5 separate regions of the Homo sapiens genome follow, and regions 1, 3, 4 and 5 are each linked to region 2. Evidence: promoter capture Hi-C in human tissues and cell types (Jung and others, 2019). All regions are on one chromosome and are shown on one strand. Each heading gives the region's core, a stretch centred on a gene start or on the middle of the fragment in contact. The rest is flanking DNA. Distances are from core to core; before and after follow the strand shown. Region 1 has its middle 110 kb from the start of NDN. Region 2 holds the start of NDN (necdin, MAGE family member). Region 3 has its middle 35 kb from the start of MAGEL2. Region 4 has its middle 130 kb from the start of NDN. Region 5 has its middle 13 kb from the start of MKRN3.

Evidence for each region. The method cuts DNA at HindIII sites, captures the fragments that hold promoters and counts their contacts. A contact is called where the count stands out against the background at its distance.
Region 1: a contact is called between a fragment that was not itself captured here and the fragment with the promoter of NDN in region 2, in 2 of the 25 tissues and cell types used here (heart right ventricle and mesendoderm cells).
Region 3: a contact is called between a fragment that was not itself captured here and the fragment with the promoter of NDN in region 2, in 3 of the 25 tissues and cell types used here (H1 embryonic stem cells, dorsolateral prefrontal cortex and liver).
Region 4: a contact is called between a fragment that was not itself captured here and the fragment with the promoter of NDN in region 2, in 8 of the 25 tissues and cell types used here (adrenal gland, aorta, dorsolateral prefrontal cortex and 5 more).
Region 5: a fragment that was not itself captured here is called in contact with the fragment with the promoter of NDN in region 2 in 2 of the 25 tissues and cell types used here (IMR-90 fibroblasts and lymphoblastoid cells).

Annotation. Positions count from the first base shown.
Region 1 is chr15:23,790,763-23,794,545 of GRCh38, forward strand. No RefSeq gene overlaps it. Among named protein-coding and RNA genes, the nearest start is that of NDN, 110 kb to the left of the region's middle. The HindIII fragment of the contact is 3,366 bases long and covers 429-3,783 here.
Region 2 is chr15:23,686,035-23,689,643 of GRCh38, forward strand. It overlaps NDN (necdin, MAGE family member), which reads right to left and starts at 1,271. Exons shown (of 1, transcript NM_002487.3): 1 at 1-1,271. The coding sequence starts at 1,183. The coding sequence ends at 218. The HindIII fragment of the contact is 8,447 bases long and covers 1-3,609 here.
Region 3 is chr15:23,610,781-23,614,801 of GRCh38, forward strand. No RefSeq gene overlaps it. Among named protein-coding and RNA genes, the nearest start is that of MAGEL2, 35 kb to the right of the region's middle. The HindIII fragment of the contact is 8,720 bases long and covers 1-4,021 here.
Region 4 is chr15:23,812,862-23,817,065 of GRCh38, forward strand. No RefSeq gene overlaps it. Among named protein-coding and RNA genes, the nearest start is that of NDN, 130 kb to the left of the region's middle. The HindIII fragment of the contact is 5,926 bases long and covers 1-4,204 here.
Region 5 is chr15:23,576,622-23,580,630 of GRCh38, forward strand. No RefSeq gene overlaps it. Among named protein-coding and RNA genes, the nearest start is that of MKRN3, 13 kb to the left of the region's middle. The HindIII fragment of the contact is 8,655 bases long and covers 1-4,009 here.

The DNA.
Region 1 (3,783 bases), core at 862-3,361, 110 kb after region 2:
TTGAACAGAGTACAGGCAATGGTCTACACATATATGGCCTCCTGCATTATCACACAAGTATCCTGTAAAGCAGAGGGGAAATAATTGTCTTTTCAACAATGTGCCTGAATCAACATGGAAAAATACCTCATATGCTCTACTATATACAATACAAAATAACTTACTACCGAAGTCATTCAGATCTAAATATTAATGGTAAAGCAAGAAAGCTTTTGCAAAATACAACAGAAGAATAACTTCATGATTTCTTCAACAGGACGCTTGACACGTATTCCATTCCTTGGCGGGGATCACCAGCTTTAGTATCAGGAACAAAATATGAGAAAAAAGGCCCTCACCTCATTTCCACAAACAGTCCCAGTTTCAGACACACTGACTTCTCTCTGTCTAAATTACACAAGATTTATTCATCACCCAATATGTCAAAATCACCAAAGTGAGAGATGCCATGATGAGGAATTTTGGTGACAAAACTCCATTCCCCTTTTTGAGTTCAGGTCTGTGAATCTGCAGACGAGCCTCGTTTTTCCATTCATGCTTCTTATTACAAACACCTGGAAAGAGCCAACGTGCCCAGATTTTTGTATACAATGGAATACTACTCAGCAACAAAAAGGAACTACTGATACATACAACAATATGAAAAAGCTTCAAAAACATTCTGAGTAGTAATCTAACACAAAATAGTACATACAATTAAATTACATTTATATGAGTTTTGAGAACAGGCAAAACTAATCTATTGTTAGGAAAAAATCAGAACAGTGGTTGCTGTGAATTAAATGGGAAGAGTTTGAGAGTATTTTCTGAGTTGATGGGAATTTTTCATATTTTGAAGGGTTTTGAGTTCCACGGTTGCATCCATGTGTCAAAACTCATCACTTAATAGTTGCACATTTCATGATAGGTGAAAGTTATCTTAAAAGTAAACAAATATTATGATCTCATTAATGATACATGTAAGGGTGATGTGTATGCCTATCTCCAATTTTCTTCAAAATGTATCAAAGAATAGGATGAGTTGAATGGAGGGATGGATATGGGGATAAATACTTGGTAGAAAACGTATAATAAAATGTCAACTGTGGAATCTAGGTGGTAGCTACACGATTCTTTAAACTTCGTTTGAAACTTTCATTACTAAATGGGAAAAAGAAAGGGGATTAAATTACATATCTAGGGTCAAGTGTTATATGCAATTAAATTTTTGATATTTGCTCTTTGGACTTTCACAACACACAACGTGGATTTTTTTTTTTTAAAAAAATCTTATCCTACTTTAGCTGAATATATATTCTGTACTGCCATGGAATAAAATTGGAAAACCTTATTTGGTAATACAGTCAAAATGATAATAAAGAAGGACAACTTATTTGTTAATGTTTTTCCATTAAAAGTATTTTTTTGTGAAAGATACTTTGAGGCAAAAATGATAGTACCTTTAATAAATATTGGGGCCAAAATATGTAATATTTTAATACAGGAAATGCCATTGAGGATCTGCTTATAGTTTTTCATCTCTTATTTGGCTCATTTGTTTGTGTCTTTAGAGTAAATATGAGAGTCAAGTAACTACAAGCAGCAGTGTAGGATGTTGGGTGGAGAGGAAGCCAGTAGGTGCAAGGGGTCTCATTGGGAACAGAAAAACGTTCACAGCTCAGCACAGCATTCTCCACTGCCTCTGTGACTCCTGTTTAGCCCATTACCAGATGGAGTTCTGGAGGTGAAGTTATTATGGAACCGTGAATAAGAAGCTGAAAGTGATCCACGTCAGCTTCATTTCCAGATATCTTCATCTCCATCTCTTCCGGCCCACACTCTTCTCTTTCTGAGCATGCTCTTTGTGACCAAAGTTGTTCTTGGGAGCTGGGAATTAGAGCTCACTTTGGGGTTGTTGAGTGATGGAAATATCAATCACATTCTAACAATACGTGATTTAAGGTACTAGATGTAAGCTTCCTGTAGCTTCTCTTGATTATTAGCGAGATTTTACAGAAAAATCGGGACCTTCAAAATACGCACTTGCCCTCATATTTGCAGACCTGTGAAAACTTTCTTGCCTTTTTGAATGGCATCTTCTGGTCTTTAGCATTCTGTGTTTAGCATCTACTGGGCCTGAAAACATTAACCTACAATATCAGACCTCCTACCTGTCTTGTACCTGGGCAGTGCTGAGATTTTGGAAAGACGTGTGAGCATTAACAGTACTTTGTAGGTGCCAACACTTCCATGGCACTTCTGAGCTGCAAGGTGCTGTTCTGAGGCTTTTGTACAATTAACTCATTTAAACATCGTTAGAACCCCATGATATCAGTAATATTATGTTCCTGCTGCAGATGAGACAGTGGCACAGAGGGGTTAAATGATTTACGTAAAGTCACTCTCCTGAGAGGCAGAATCAGGATTTGCACCGGGGTGTCAATGAGGCAGACTCTGTGTTCCTATCGGCCATGTTCTGCAGTTTCTCATAGAATCTAAAGTCACAATGAGAATGAGGCCTGGCAAGGGGTTAAGCAAGATGTAGAATAAAATGACAAGAACAGCTGCCCATGATCTATTTAAGACAAGGAATGGAAAATCCTGTGAAAGTTGACCAGGGGCGAAGTAAGAGCTCAGAGAGCCAGAGGGGCTCCTGTTGACCAAATGGCCAGAATAGCGGCACCTAAGGAATGGCCTTCCTGATCTCAGAAACCTGAGCCAGGCGCTCACCAGCTGCTCTCCTCACCCCAGGCCAAGGAGCCAGAGGGGAAGCCGTGGCTGCCTGATGTGATTGGGTTAGACCCACAGTTGGAAACTAGATACCTGGAGAGATGTAGTGTCCAGTGAAAATCTAAGCAGGTTGAGCCCTCAGGGGACAGAGGTAGCGATGTCTAACCAGGACAGGGCACATGCTGGGACAAGGCAGGTGGCAGCCCATGCTGCCAGGAGAGATCATCCATCAAAGATTCTTCCTCAATCCATCAGCTTCGTCATTTCAGCCCATGCTTTTCTCACATATCACTGTACAGGAGTGGAGAGGGAGGTTGTTTGTCTATTTTTCTCCCCACCTAGGTTGGCCCTTCTCTCCCTATGCACACCCAAAGCTCATGATTACTGGGGAGCTTTCTGCTGTGCATATGCTTTTTGAGGTTGATATACCTATCCATAGCTCTCTCGACATACAGCTCCTTGGTCCAGGACTTTGGGTGGGGATGTACGGACATAAGTATAAAGTGAACAAAATCTCTAATATTCCAGGATGTGAGCTGTGACCTGAAGAAGCAGTTTCAGAGGGGCAGCCTAAAGGGCTAATACTTGCACTTCAGGACAACCAAGTAAAGAAAACAGGATTGCTTAATAAATCCCAGCTCATGCCCTGTGTTCTCTGTTAGGAGCATTCCTGCCTTCTGGCCTTCAAGTCTCACAAACCATGGGGATTGACCAGCAAACATGGGATGGCGAGGACATGCTGTGCACCAGGAACATTAAAGGGTTCAACACTTCCTGTCTACACACATTTGGGATTGGCATCCCTAATTTTTCACATTTTTTTTTTCCTGAGAGTAATAGGGGTGATCAGGAAACTCCTCTGGGCTTAAGATGGGCCAGCAGGTTTTCCTGGAGCCTCTGCTCTGTACTCTATGTGTCCTGTAGTGGGTCTTCATTGTAGCTATGCTGTTTCCACAGCTCTCAGCAGATGTGGGGAGAAGGGCAGGGGGCTGGAAAAGCTGGAGGACTTGCCTGACCTTTCATCTCTTTTGGGGCAGCAATCATGTGTATTTTTGTTTGTTTTGTTTTGTTTGT
Region 2 (3,609 bases), core at 21-2,520:
AAGCTTACATATAAACAAACATGCATACATCCTAAATACTACACAATAGTACCCAAATGAATACAACATTGCATTAAAGGTATAAAAGCACTGTACTGAAAACTTAAAAGTTACACGTGAATACTGCACTGTAAATCCTGAATACTATAATGACCCACCCCCACCCTTCCACAGCCCTGGTGAGGGTCAGAAACCATTCATCTGCCTCCAGACTTTGCTAGTCCTCAGAGACACTGCTGCGAGGGTAGTGGGCAGTGGGATTAGCCTCCCGCAGAGCTCTGGCCTCCTCCAGAGCTTCTCTGTATCGGGAGGGCCAGGCCTGGGGGTCTTTCTTAAAGACCCTGGCCAGGAACTCCATGATTTGCATCTTGGTGATTTCGCGGCTGGCCCGGGAGCCCCAAAAGAACTCGTATTCGGGCGGCTCCACGTATGGGACGCGCTGGTACTTCAGGTAATTCATTTGGACGAACTCCTCAGTGATGAGCTTCCGCACGTCCCCGAAGGTGGAGTGCTTCTTCCAGGGCCGCAGCCCCAGGATGCGCAGCACGTTCCAGACGGCGCTCTCTCTGGCGCCGCGGCCCTTCACGTAGATGAGGCTCAGGATCATGAGCAGGAGGCCTGTCATGGGCATGCGGTTGCTCAGCGCCACCCTGTCCAGCTCCTCGGGCTCCAGCGCTTTGACCAGCGCAAACTCCATGGTGTGCAGGCTGGTTAGCCTCAGGTGCAGCCCGAACACCCGGGCGAGGATGAGGCTGGTGCGCCGGAGGATGCTCCTGCACCACTTCTTGTAGCTGCCGATGACATCTTTCACCATGTCTGGAAACCAGATGATCATCTTCTTCTGGTCCTTGACCAGCACGTACCACATGAGCTCGTGCGCCTTCTGCACCAGCTGCGCCGGGGCTGGCGGTGCCGGGCCCGGCTGGGCCGCGCTCGGGGCCTGGTGGGCGCGGCCCTCCTCCGCAGCCTGCTGCAGGGCCTTCGGGTCGCCCTCGTCGTTCGGGGCCTGGGGAGGCGGCGCGGCCTGCGGAGCGGCCGTCGGGCCTAGAGGAGGGCTCTGCGGCTCTGCCAGGGTCGCGGACGGAGGAACCCCCTCCGAAACCCCAGGGCTGCTGTGCACCTCGGAGTTGGGGGCCTCGGCTGCAAAGTTAGGGTCGCTCAGATCCTTACTTTGTTCTGACATGTCTGCGCCGTCTGGCAAGGGCAGGGCCTCTGCGTCCAGGAGCTCTTCGAGCCTGCGCTCCCTCCGCGGATTCCTGGAGAGGAAGTGCGCGTTGCTGCGCGCGGCGCCTTCCGCAGCGACGGGCAGGGCGGGGCGGCGGCGGGACGCGGCACTGCGCCTGCGCGACCGCGGCCTTGGCCAGCGGCTGGGGGCGGGCGGGGCAGCGCGGGGCCCCGACGGGGAGGGTCCATGGCGAGGCTTCACCTGCTGGGAGAGCGATCCCGGGGTTTCCTGTTTGGGCTGAGAAGATCTAGGGCAGGAGAGAAGTGAGATGGATGCGTACTGGAGAAGGGGCCAGTTTAAGGGAAAGATACCTTAAGTTTTTGGGATGTTGGGGTCAAGTTTCTTGGGAAACGCTTACCTGGGTATATCCAGAATTAAGTTAAATATGAGAGTCCCAGAGAAAGGTCTGGGCGGCTTTGTAAACATGAGCTTTATGCGAACCAGTGAGAGGAACAGTCGGGCTTGTCCAAGAAAATGTGTAAACTGTAAAGTGGATGTCTGAGGTTGGAATCCTGAGAAATTCCAATAAAAAATGATCGACTCCCTACCAAATCAGATAGGCTATAAGAAAAGGGGAAATGCAGTGTGTCGTTAACGTAATTTCCTATCAACCCATGTGAACTATGAACTTTTTAAGTAGGCAGTGGACTTAGAGCATCATTAATGCTTTAACGGGCATAAATTTGGGTTTTACACTTCCTTTGGGTAACTTTGATTCCATTTTATTTTTTTCCATACTTAGTCCATAGCAGAAGGATTGCTATATCTTTTAGCACAAACTTGTATGATAATGTCTTTTCCCTCTGCCCAGCACCCTCATTCTTCAATTCACCTTCTCTCAGGACCCTCTCTGAAGCTACTGAGTCCTCCACGTTGGAAGCCACACCCAAGTCTTTCCTGAGATTTAAAAAAAAAATAGGTCCCATGGGTAATATCTGGTAGTGTCTCTGAGATGACCAAAGGGTAGCAGGGGAAACATAGGTAACCCTGTTTTCCAGGTATGGAAAACAGATTCCCAGTGGGCAAAGACAAAACTGTCACTCCTACAGGCTCTCCATGAAAAAAAGGGTCATTGCCTGAGCATCTGAAACCAGGGACCTTAATGCTGCTTCAGCATCCTTGGTCTGGGCTGATGTGGTCCTTCAGCTCTTCCCGGGTTTCTTCTCATCAGCAGCTTCTTAAATATGCTGTCTTGAATCTAGTTATTGCCACTCGAAGCCAAAAGCATATTTAAAAATTGTCTTGACATGTCTAGAGTCCTCACTGTGAGTATGTATCTTTTCCCACTTTATTTTTCCTCAAGCAGGTTGATGTTGAAAGGTTTTCTGTGCTTTCTCTCTTTGGGTTTGCACGCACATAACACTTTTGGCAGAGCCATTACCACACCAGTCCCTCCAACAGGACTCTTAAGCTTCCCACTTCACCAGGGTAATTCCTAGATATCAGTCTTAGTTGGAATTATTTCAACACTTTTCTCCTCCTCCTCACCCTCCTCCACCTCCTCCTTCTCCTCTCCATCTACTTCTCCTTTTTCTCCTTCTTCTATTTATAGATATCTACCATTTTCTTGGGAACATCTTACAGAAATATGCTAATTATATTCATTGTTTTTAAGAATGTCTCTTGAACAGACTTATTACCCCCATGCTTCATAAATATAATCCTCATTTATTGCATTTAAATCTCCATCAATATTATTCTTTATTTTGTTTGGGTATGTATTATTTTCTAACTATTTAAATAAAATATTTAGGCCAGGTGCGGTGGCTCACGCCTGTAATCCCAGCACTTTGGGAAGGTGAGGCGGGCAGATCACCTGAGGTCAGGAGGTCGAGACCAGCCTGGCCAACGTGGCAAAACCCCGTCTCTACTAAAAATACAAAAATTAGCCGGGTGTGGTGGTGGGCACCCTTAATCCCAACTGCTTGGCAGGCTGAGGCAGGAGACTCGCTTGAACCTGGGAGGTGGAGTTTGCAGTCAGCTGAGAGCATGCCACTGCACTCCAGCCTGGGCAACAGAGCGAGACTGTCTCAAACATTAAATAAATAAAGAAATAAAATATTTAGTTCATTTGATATATTTTTTAATAAGAAAAGTGTTTGAACCTACTATTTAAATCTCAACTTGGCTTTGGCCATAGGCTATGGTTTTTAACATTGTGATCTCATTAAAACTGCATTCTCACATGTCACCCTCCGAGATGTAATGGATTCTTGAAATTAAAGTGCAGGCTTGGGGCATGACAACAATAAAAGGTGGCTCTGCTGAAGTGAGTATCAGCGCTCTGGCCAGAGAGCTGCTTGGACTTCAGTTGCTGCCTGGGCAGGACTGGATAACTTCTACCTGGACTTCATTCTAGTGAAGTTGCCAGCATCAAGCAGACT
Region 3 (4,021 bases), core at 1,136-3,635, 74 kb before region 2:
ATTCTGAAGCTAGATCTGGTGGCAGAGGAGACTAAGGAGCTCAGTATTTCCACATAGTAACAACAAACATTCTAAAAAGAAACAAGAGAACAATCTTACTTACAACAGCTTCAAAAAATAAAATATTTAGAAATAAGTTTAACCAAGAAGGTGAAAGACCTGTACACTGAAAAATGTTAATAACAAAAATTATAGAAGACACAAATAAATTGGAAGATATTCTGTGTTCATAGATTGGAAGAATAATGTTGCTAAAATGTCCATACTACCCCAAATGACTTATAGACTCAAAGCAATTTCTAACAAAATTGTAATGTAATTATTCATAGTAACAGAAAAAAATATAAAATTAATGTGGAACCACAACAAACTCTGAATAGCCAAAGGAATCATGAGTAAGAAGATGAAAGCTGGAGGCACCAACCACATGCATGATTTAAAACTACACTACAAAGCAATAGTAATTAAAACAGTGTGATACTGGCATGAAAATAGACTCGTTGGCTGGGTGCAGTGGCTCACGCCTGTAATCCCAGCACGTTGGGAGTCTGAGGCAGGAAGATCATGAGGTTAGGAGTTTGAGACCAGCCTGACCAACATGGTGAAAGCCCGTCTCTACAAAAAATACAAAAATTAGCCAGGCATGGTGGCACATGCCGGTAATCCCAGCTACTCAGGCAACTGAGGCAGGAGAATTGCTTGAACCCGGGAGGCAGAGGCTGCAGTGAGCCTAGATTACACCACTGCACTCCCGCCTGGGTGACAGAGCAAGACTCTATCTCAAAAAAAGAAAGAAAGAAAAGAAAAAGAAAATAGACTCATCAACCAATAGAATAGAAGATAAAACCCAGAAAAGAATACATGCATATGTAGTCAATAAATTTTTAACAAAGGTGCCAAGTATACATATTGGAAAAGGGACAGTCTCTTCAATAAGTGGTGTTGGGAAAAGTGCATATTCACATTCATAAGAATGTTGGATCCTTATCTCACACCCTGTACAAAAATAAACTCAAATTGGATTAAATACTTAAGCATAAGACCTGAAATTCTAAAACTACTAAGAGAAAACATAAGGGAAAAGCTACACAACATTGGTCTGGGCAATGAGTTTTTGGATTTGACCCCAAAATCACAGGCAACAAAAGCAAAAATAGACAAATGTCATTACATCAAAATAAAAAGATTTTGCAAAACAAAGGAAACAATTAATAGAGTAAAAAAACTACCTATTGTTTGGGAGAAAATACTTGAAAGCCATACATCTGATAAGGGGTTAATATCCAAAATATATAAGGAACTCAGCTCTACAGAAAAACAAACAAATAACCCTATTAAAAATAGAGAAATTACTTAAATAGACATTTCTCAAGAGAAGACATAAAAATGATCAACAGATATATGAAGAAGTGTTTGACACCACTAATCATCAGAAATGCAAATAAAATCTGCAATGAAATATCACCTCACACGTGTTAAAATGGTTATTGTCAAAACAATGAACAATTCGTGTTGGGGAGGGTGTCGAGGAAAGGGAACCTGTATGCACTGCTGGTGGGAATGAAAGTTAGAACAGCCATTATGGAAAAATAAACTAAAAATAGAATTATCATATGATCCGGCAATCTCACTTCTGGATATATACCCCCACAATTTAAAATCAGTGTGTTAAAGAGGTATGTGCACTTCCATGTTTGTTGCAGCACTATTTCCCAAAGCCAAGTTATGAAATCAACCTAAGGGTCCATCATCAGATGAATGAATAAAGAAAATGTGGGGAAAAAAGAAAACGTGGTATATATACCCAATAGAACATTATTAAACCTTAAGAAAGAAATTCTGTCATTTGTGACAACATAGACGGAATTGGAGAACATTATACTAAATGAAATAAGCCAAGAAGAAAGACAAATACTGTGTTACCTCACTCATATATGGAATATAAAACAATCAAAGAAGTAGAGAGAAGAATGGTGGTTACCAGAGGATGAAGGGATAGAGTTAGTAGGGAGATAACGGTCAAAGGGTATCAAGCCTCATTTAGATTGGACAAGTAAGTTTTATTTTCTTTGGAATGTATTGCACAGCATGGTGAATACAGCCAATGAAAATGTAGAGTACACTTCAAAACCGTTGAGAGTCAATTTCAAATGTTCTCACCACAAAAAACGGGTATGTGGGCTGATACACACGTTATTAAGTTTCATTTAATTATTTCACATTGTATTTAAGCATCATAACATTCCTTTGTATTCCATAAATATATATAATTTGTCAATTTACTGTTGAACAATAAAAATAAATCTTTACAACAACAAGAACAATAAAAAGTGAACACAGGGTGACTTATTTTCACCAGACAGATGAGGAAAGCTTCCCTGAGCAGATCACTTCAGATCTCAAGGCTATGAAGGCATTAGCCAGGATAACAGCAGCATGTGAAAAGTGTCTGTGACTGAAGGACGCATGGTGTTTTTGGGGAACCACCGTAAGGTGAGACAGCTGGTGCACAGAGAGAGGGTGAAAGGTGATCATGGTGGAAATGATGCCACCACGATGATGAGCGAGGATGATTCTTATAACTGACATCTCATAATGGAATGGAAACTTTACAGGAAACAGATGGAGGCTGGAAGTAAATATATGTACATACACACAAATAGGCCAAACGAGAACTGCTATGGTCAGAATCTTTGTGTTTTCCCAAAATTGATTTGTTGAAACCTAACCCCAAGGTGATGGTACTAGAAGGTGAGGGGCTTTTTGCTGGTGATTAGATCATGAGGGTGGAGCCTCATTAATGGGATTAGTGCCCTTATAAAAGGAACCTTGGAGAGCTCTTTCACCCTTTCCTCCATGTGAGGACACAGCGTAAAAACAGCCATTGGTGAACCAGGAAGCAGGCCCTCAGCAGACACCAAATCTGCCAGCACCTTGACCCTGGATTTCCCAGCCTACAAATCTATGAGAACTAAATGTCTGTTGCTTATAAGCCACCCAGTCTATGGTATTCTGTTATAGCAGCCTGAATGGATTAAGACAAGAGCTAAAGGAGATCCCATAGAGCAAAATAAATAACTTTCAGGAACTTTATAAAGCATTACTTATACCTAAATATCAGCAGATTGATTAGAGGGAAGGGTTCACAGACTTCAGTGATACCCACACCACAGGTTGAGGACACAGACACACTGTAAAAATTTGTATTTAATGCCATTCCTTGCACTGGTCTATTAGTTCCCAACCCTTCTTGCATATCCAGTGGTAGCCTTCAGTAATTCTCCCCTCTCTCTATATATTATTAATGTATCACACTTAATTAAAATATTCTCATGAACATAAAACTGTGCTGGAATTTCTTTTTTTAATTTTTACTTTAAGTTCTGGGGTACATGTACATAGCGTGCAGGTTTGTTACCTAGGTATACCTGTGCCATGGTGGTTTGTTGCACCTATCAACCCGTTATCTAGGTTTTAAGCCCTGCATGCATTAGGTATTTGTCCTAATGCTCTCCCTCCCCTTGTCCCCCACCCCCCGACAGGCCCTGGTGTGTGATGTTCCCTTCCCTGTGTCCATGTGTTCTTACTGTTCAACTCCCACTTATGAGTGAGAACATGCGGTGTTTGGTTTTCTGTTCCTGTGTTAGTTTGCTGAGAATGATGGTTTCCGCGTCCCTGCAAAGGATATAAACTTATTCTTTTTTTTTTTTTTTTTTTTGAGACAGAGTCTTGCTCTGTTGCCCAGGCTGGAGTATAGTGGCATGATCTCGGCTCACTGCGACGTCCGCCTCCTGGGTTCAGGCGATTCTTTTGCCTCAGCCTACTGAGTAGCTGGGACTACAGGCACAGACCACCACACCCAGCTAATTTTTGTATTTTTAGTAAAGACGGGGTTTCACCATATTGACCAGGCTGGTCTGGAACTCCTGACCTCGTGATCCACCCACCTCAGCCTCCCAAAGTGCTGGGATTACAGGCGTGAGCCACTGTGCTCGGTGAAATTCTTTTTTATGGCTGCATA
Region 4 (4,204 bases), core at 1,085-3,584, 130 kb after region 2:
CATAGACCTAACTATAAAAACAAGTGAATAGAATATTCAGAATGTAATTTAGAAAATAATTTCCTGACCATGATGTAAGGTAAGATGGCTTAAACCAAACCTAGAAAGTACTTTTTGTATAATATAAAAGATATTCTAATGTAGTTGATGTGAGCAAGGAAATGGAGACAGATTGAGTCAAGCTCAGATTATTCTATTCCTTTACTGCAGGGCTTTCTGCTTAGATTCAGAGCTAGACCATGGGAGAGATAATAGTGGCTACCTCTTGAGTTGCTGTGAAGATTTAATGAAATAATAATACATAGAGCATGTAGACTGGTACCAGGTCTGTGTTAACCACTAAGTTAGTGCTGATATTGACAGCATTATCTAAGTAATTGCAAGATGTATTATATGCATCAATTATTAGATGCATCACTATATTCTGTTACCGTGACAGAATAAAAGGACAAACTATGACACAAATATTTCCTATCACTTAGAATTTTTATCTTATAATAACACAGAAACTTTGTGCAACTTATATTAATGTGAGCATTTGTCATAAATCACTTCTATGATTACATGAGATGGAAAATATAAGAAAATACATTACCAAAGTATTTTCCAAAATTTATACCTTTCGGATTAAACTCTTCTGAATCACTTTTCAACTCATCTTGTCTGTAACTTTCCCCACAGTTTCATCATCTATGCTAATTAGAAGATTTGGCAATGCCACATTTCTTGAGCAAGTCCTGTGCTACTCTTTTGTGAATGTATTTTTCCAATCTACTGACAGACTCTGCAGGTTTTGTTTTTCGTTATCTCACCCAAAGGTATTCATAGAAGCTTTTCAGACCATGTTTGTGTATGTGCATGCAAAGACAATCACATTACAACTGTCTTCCCACCAGTAGTGTTTGACACTGTTAATTTTCACATGAATCTGTGTTTGAGATAGGTGGGATGTATGCAGTAACATCAATGGAATGCACTACTTTCTCAGCAATTGCTCATTCTCAGTGTATAGTCATTGCAGCTCATTTGCTGTATTCTGCTCTATCATTGAGGAAACATGCTTAAATATTGTTTCTGACTAGCTATTAGAGACAGTAAAATTATTAGTGGGCTACCAAATATCATAATTTACCTGAGGAGAGTTGCTTTTATAAACTGTGATTCAAGAAGTCCATGGAATAGGGAGATAGAAATGGCAAAAAGTTACTTGAAAGTATGCACAGGGGTGATAGCTTTCTAAAAACTTTCAGAAAGTTATATTTTGCAAATTTCTGCTCTAATCTTACAAATATGATCAATGTTCCCTATAAGCTGCATGCCAAAATCAATTCTTAAATCCATAAAACTTGGTTATATTTTCCTATTGTTCTTTCACCCTTAATCATTTGGATATTTATCATACAAATCATATTATGATCAGTTATTGCAAAAGTAGTTGCATTTGGTCTCCATAGAATGCTTTGCTCTGCCCACTTGCAACACTGACAAACTCTACTTCTGGGCACTTGGAGATTGGAACGGGCTTAGCTGTTCCCTGATGAATATACTTAAGAAGAAATTCATATCGTTCGTAATTTAGGATGTTGACTGAAATTGCACCTAGAGTTGCAGGCTTCAGGAAGGCTCAATTAACTTTACAGTGTGTCCTGATCTCAAATATATGACCCATGAATCCACTGGGAACCATTCTCTATTCAGGCTACCGTGGGCAGACAGGGTAGTGGGGCCTTACTACATGATATGGTGTAAGACTTTGGGATGTTTGCGATGACAGATTTCTTAGAATTTGGGTGGTCAGGCCAGCATCTGTAAAATCAGGTCAGAGGTACAGCAGTCGGTTGTGGGAAATCATATATTCCAGGCTATCAGAGAGTAATGTCTGGGGACTTGGTGCCCAACACTGTGTCCTGTGACATCAATGTTAGCACAGTCTTATGTCTGTCACCTGCTCTGTCTTCATCCTGAGCACTCACTGACCAGAGCTCATTGACCCTCATTTGCTAAATGGAGATGGGTCTTTTCTTGTCCAGTTCTACTTGCAGCCTGTTTATGGCATTTTGCTATGCCTCTTTTTGGTGAAAAGTGTGTCAGGGGATAATCACAGTGTACATTATTATGGATTTTAGTGTATGCATTGGAATAAATAGGAAAAGGGGATTTGACAAGCTATTTGGCATTATAGAAAGTACAGTTAAAATTAAATAATCTGAGTAACCTTCCATGTTTTAAGACGAAACATTTAAGTGTGCCTGCCTGTCTCAAGGAGTGAAATATGAGCTTGGAGGAGTGAGGTTTCTTGAATTAGAAATGCCCACAATAACAGCGACTAAATAACTGCTATCCTGATCTCAGAAATGAGAACTCTGGTCCAGGTCAGGTGCATCTCTCACTGTAGGTCTAAACACTACAGGAGCTCATTTTCCCACTGAAGCTATAGATCTAGTATGGAGAATATAACCTATGATTACAGATCATAAAAGCAAGAGTCTTGGCTTTGTAGATGTCCATGGGATTGTGGCCATGCAGTCCCCCGACTTTGTAGGCTTTGTAGGCATGGTTGCCAGAAACAGCCCGGTGCTCCCCAGAAGAGTGCTGTGGTCTGTGAACAAGGAGCTGTGTGGTGAGTGGGTGGGCAGCCCTGCTTGCTGTGAGATTGCTTAGCTAGCACATATGCAGAGTCACCATTTATCCTATGTCCATCTCTTAGACCCGCGCATGGAGGTTTGAGAATATGTTGTACCATGTTGCTCTTTTGTTTATTTCACCAGGATTTCTTTACCTGTGCACAACACAATCTGAATCACTCACTTTCCTAAACCTGATAAAAACCTTGTGTCTAAAGCTTCATTTTCAGATATGAGTAAGCAGGGACTGGCTTAAATGAACATGATTGCAAATACTTCTCTTTTTTTACACCAAGACAGCCCACCTGCTACCAAGACTATACTTTTTTGTGGTTTTAGGGCTTGGTGCTGGTTAATGTAATTTCATGATGTGGCTGTTAACAGAATACGTGGTCCCAAATAATTCCTCATGGAGTCTCTAAAATGAAAAGAGCTTAATTATCACAGGATTTTTCAAAGGCTTGAAGGTACAGATGTGTTTTTAAATCTTAAGGAAGGAAAATCTGTAACCAAACAAGAAAAAAAATATCTTAAGTGCCTAAATATGATTTATTTTCCCTATTACTCCCGTTTCTCCATATTCACTTCTACTGTCCAGAGTCATGTCTTCCAAAGAGTCTTTGGTGGGATTCCGCAGATACAGGACTAGACGTTGTCTGAAATGGGTCTTTCTGTGAGGCACAGGCATCTATCTTTAAAGAAGTGGTTACTGACACTCACACAGGCAACTGGGTAATGAGGAGCATGAGGGGGAAGAAGAAAAGAGTAGGAGAGCCCTGGAACTTGATGATGTCTACCTGAAGAAGGTGCCCCTGGATTTGGAATGCTGACTAGATAAAGGAAGCAGCTTTGCATTCTTTCTATGTGCCTGTTCATTCGCGGAGCCCAAGTTTGTGTTTGTGTTCATTCTGGTGTTTGTTTGCAAGTTCTTTTCTATCACAGTAATACCTTTAAAATAGTATTTTCATTTTTATAATGTTAGATTTATAGAAAGCTGCAAAAAGGATTCAGTGAGTTTCATATGCTCTTCAGCTTCCTGTAATGTTAATATCTGACATAGCCATAGTATATTTATGAAAGCTGAGACACTGATGGTAAAAATAGCTATTAACTGAATTAAAGACTTTCTTTATATTTTACCAGGATTTCCACTAATGTCATTTGTCTGTTCCAGGATCCAATCCAGGATAGCACATGACGTTTAGTTCTTAAGTGCATTACTTATTTATTGCTGCCTTGTAAATTACCACAAATTTACTGGCCTAAAACTGCAAAACGTATTGTCTCATAGTTCTCTGGGTCAAGAATTGAGACATAGATGATAGCCAAGGCTGAGGTCTCAACTAAAATCTCAGCTGGTGAAGAAGTTACTTCTTAGCTCACATTATTGCTGTTTGAACTCAGTTCATTGCAGGCTGTTGGTCAAAGCCTGCATTTAGTCCCTCCAGGTGTTGGCTTCTCCTACATGCCAGAAGCCTCCATCAAAGCCATTGAGGGACAGAGTTTGCAGCAAGACAGAAAAATCACAATCTTATGTAAAATGATCACCTAAGTGTCATCTCATCACCTTTGCAGTATTC
Region 5 (4,009 bases), core at 504-3,003, 110 kb before region 2:
ATCTCATTTATAAATATTGATGCAAAAAATATGAAATGAAATATTAGAAAGTGAAAGAATAGCACTGTTAAAAAATAAGACTTCAGGAAGTAGTGGATTATATTCCAGGAAAACAAAGATGGTACAATATGAAAAAATATTTTTTCTTAATATATCAAAGGAAATAATCATATAAGCAACTTCATATATCTCCCAAATTTGTGATCAATTTGCTTTAGTGTATATAATACAGCTATTTAGAGCATAAATATATTTATATGTGTATATTACCCAAATCTAAATTTTTGAGAAATGAACACACAAAAACACATAACTAATGAAAAGAAATAAAAAATATAGGAAGATTAAAATATTAAATATAAAGGCTGAGACTTTGAAAACAATTAATAAAATAGATAAACCACTAACTAAATTAATGAGGAAAATGAGAAAAAATAAAAACAAAATCACATACACACATTCAATAGGAGGAATTCACAACATTCTATTAAACAAACATAAGAAATCATCACTCAACTAGATGAAGATTAATTGCAAAACTGAAATTGATGATTTTCCAGGCATTTATAATTTATCAAACATTGGCTACAAAACATGACAATGTAACCTACTAGTTAACATAAAATTAATAAAATGGTTATCACAATTTTAATAGGGATTGTCATAAAACCTTTAAAGAACAAATCATTAAAGTGCTATGTAACACAATCCAGAAGTTTAAAATGGAAGGAAGGGTCACTGACTTGTTTAATTATGAATGACACGTAATTTTATATCAGAGTGTAACTAAGGTAGTGAACACACACAAACACACATTCACAAATACATGCAAACTAATGATCAAGTTTATGAATAATGATGCAAAATTTTAAGAAAATATTAGAATAAAAATATTTCAGCATTGTATTTATTTAATTAGCCAAAAAAGGTAATCATATAATCATCTCTTTTGATCAGGCAAAAACAATTAGATTTTTCTCTCCTTTCTTCACTGTTAGTTATTATTTTGATGTATCAATCAATGCAATTGTATACAAGGCCAAAAAATGAGACATATAAATGATACATCCTTCAAAGAAGGATTTAAATTCCTCTCTCTGAGATGTTGTATGTTGAAAATCTGAAAATTTCTGTAAAACTTTAAAAAATAAAAATCAGTAAAATTCTAGGAGAAAAATAATAAATGTGGATAAGTTTCGTATAATATAGAAAATGTAATGAAATGCCTATTTTTGTTATCACAACAATAATTTAAAGTACACAAGAACCATGTACTTTAAATTTAGGAATAAATAAAAACTGGGAATAAATTTAAAAATGTGTTAAGTGCCTTCAGGAAACCATAAATACTTAAACAAATGATAATATATACTATATAATTTGATAGGGAACTTTAACATCACCAATGTGTCAATTTTTTAATGAATTTACAAAATTTCTAATAAAGTACTGCTTAGGGAAAAGTCTTAAACTGTGTCCTTCCTGTGCTCTCAATCACAACAATCATCAATGCAGAAAATGTCAGTGGCTAAATGTGGGGGCATTTCACACACACCAAGCAGCAGACACCAGCTGGGCATCCTCCAATTTAATTCCAAGGCTATCTACCTGGAGATAGTGTCAGATCCTGCAGGTGAGGGGCCGGCCTCAAGACTCCCCCCACTCCCTAGACACCAGTCACAAAGTCCAGGCCTCTGGAAGTTCTGACCAGTGGGCTTCAAGTTGGCATTCCCACGACCCACTCTTTGGATTTGATTAATTTGCTGGAGCAGCTCACAGAACTCAGTGAAACACTTATGTTTACTGATTTATTATAAAGGATATTACAAAGGATGCAGATGAAGAGATGCATTTGAGGAAGCTATGGGGGAATGGGGTGGAGCTCCCATGCCCTCCTGGAGTGCCACCCTCCAGGAACCTCCCGGTGTTCAGCTATCCAGAAGCCTTTGAGCCCAGTGCTCTGGGGTTTTTATGGAAGCTTCATGACATCAGCATTCCTTCCCCCAAGGTATGGGGGGTATGACCCTTTATCAGATGAGGATCTTATGATCCACATCAGAAAGGTTGGGGGAGATTGGAATCCTCCTGCCTTGAGGTGGGTGAAAAGAGGTCAGGAGAAGGTCAGAGAGATTCTCTTTCCTAAGTCCTGCTCCTGAAGCCTAACACACGCAGTATTTTTTTAAAAAGACTGTAACAAGGGCTATGGGAGTTATGAGCCAAGAACCGTAAATGAAAACGTGTGTGTGTGTTTTGTGTTTGTGTGTGTGTATCTCATAACAACACAAGTACAAACTAGTTCTTTATAACTAAACAAAAAACTATTGTGAAAGTTGATCTGTTGGGGGGGGCAGGAAGCCAACAGGACCAGAATATTTTAGAATTGAAAAGCATCCATTCAATGAACTTTACCAGGTCTTCAAACAGTGTCATATTGCCAGCAATATGAAAAGCAGATAGTGGGACTTGAATTGATAAAAAATATATGCTAAAAAGGTTCATAAATGGACATATGTATTGAGTTGATGATAAAGATAAAAATAACAGGATTATTTAATAAAGGTTGTCGGGTGAATTCAGGAGTCATGGGCTCCAAATACCATATTTTAACAGCAGTATAAATTCCACTTACATCAAAATTTCAGACAAATACAAAACCAGGAAAGGATTTTCTTTTTATTTTAAAGTCTTGGAGTCAAGAATGTCTTACAATGACATATTCTATAAAACTCTTAAAAGTTTGACCATAATTGTAGCAATAACTGCATAGGGTCTACTGTGTGCCAGGCGCTGTTCTGAGATGGTTTATCCCATTTAATCCTTCCAACCATCCCAAGAGGTAGTCACTATTAACCCCTTGTAGCAGCTGAGAGCACTGAAGCTGAGGGAGGCTCGTAGACATGTCCATGGCACACAGTTAATAGACTCGCCCATCTGACTGCAGGGCGGGACTCACACCAATTGCTCTGCCTTACAAATGTAACCAGTTTAAAATGAGCTAATGAATTTGACATGAGCAACTTCCCCACCCCTAAAAAAGTATCAAACTATAAAAAAGTCATAAAATGGGTTGAGAATTTATTTCTATAATACATAAAGGCTTCTTAATCAACAAAAACCTTAACAAAAAGTATACCTCTTGCACATAAACAAAATGCATATAGTTTGAAGGAGGGGAAAAGTTGTCAAGCATCACTAATAATACTTATTAAAATTGATGAAGTTTCAGTTTCCTCTCAATTTGTCAAAAACCCAGATGTTTAAAAACACACTCTGTTGGGAGAATAGGCATACTTTGCTTGCAGGAGTATAATTGGTACAATTTCCATGGAGGAACATTCGATGAGAATCAAATCATGAATTCACATATGCATACACATTGACCAAGCCATTCTATTTTTTAAAAATGTGACTTGCAGGTTTATTCTATACATACAAAATCTTTCAGGTACAAGTTTGTTAATCTCACCCTGCATTATAACAGGTGCAGTGGCTCACATCTATAATTGCAACACTTTGGGAGGCTGAGGCAAGGGGCTTACTTGAGGTCAGGAGTTCCAGACTAGCCTGGCTAACATGGCCGAAACCCCGTCTCTACTAAAAATACAATACAAAAATTAGCCAGGGCTGGTGGTGCACACCTGTGGTCCCAACTACTTGGGAGGCTGAGGCACAAAAACGGCCTGAACCTAGAAGGCTTAGGTTGCAGTGAGCCAAGATCGTGCCACTGTTTTCCAGCCCGTATGACAGGGCCAGACTTTGTCTCAAAAAAAAAACAAAACAAAACTGGAGACAGAGACACATATATATATTTTATACTCATAATTTTGTTTTTAATCTTTTTGATATATGTTATTTTAGGTTTATCTTGGATCTGCATTTATATTTTTAATACATATAAAAATATGAGTGAAGATGGTGCCACTGCACTCTAGCCAGCGTGACAGAGCCAGACTGTGTCAAAAAAAAAAAAAAGAAAAAATTAGAAAAGACAAATCCAACAATAGTTAAC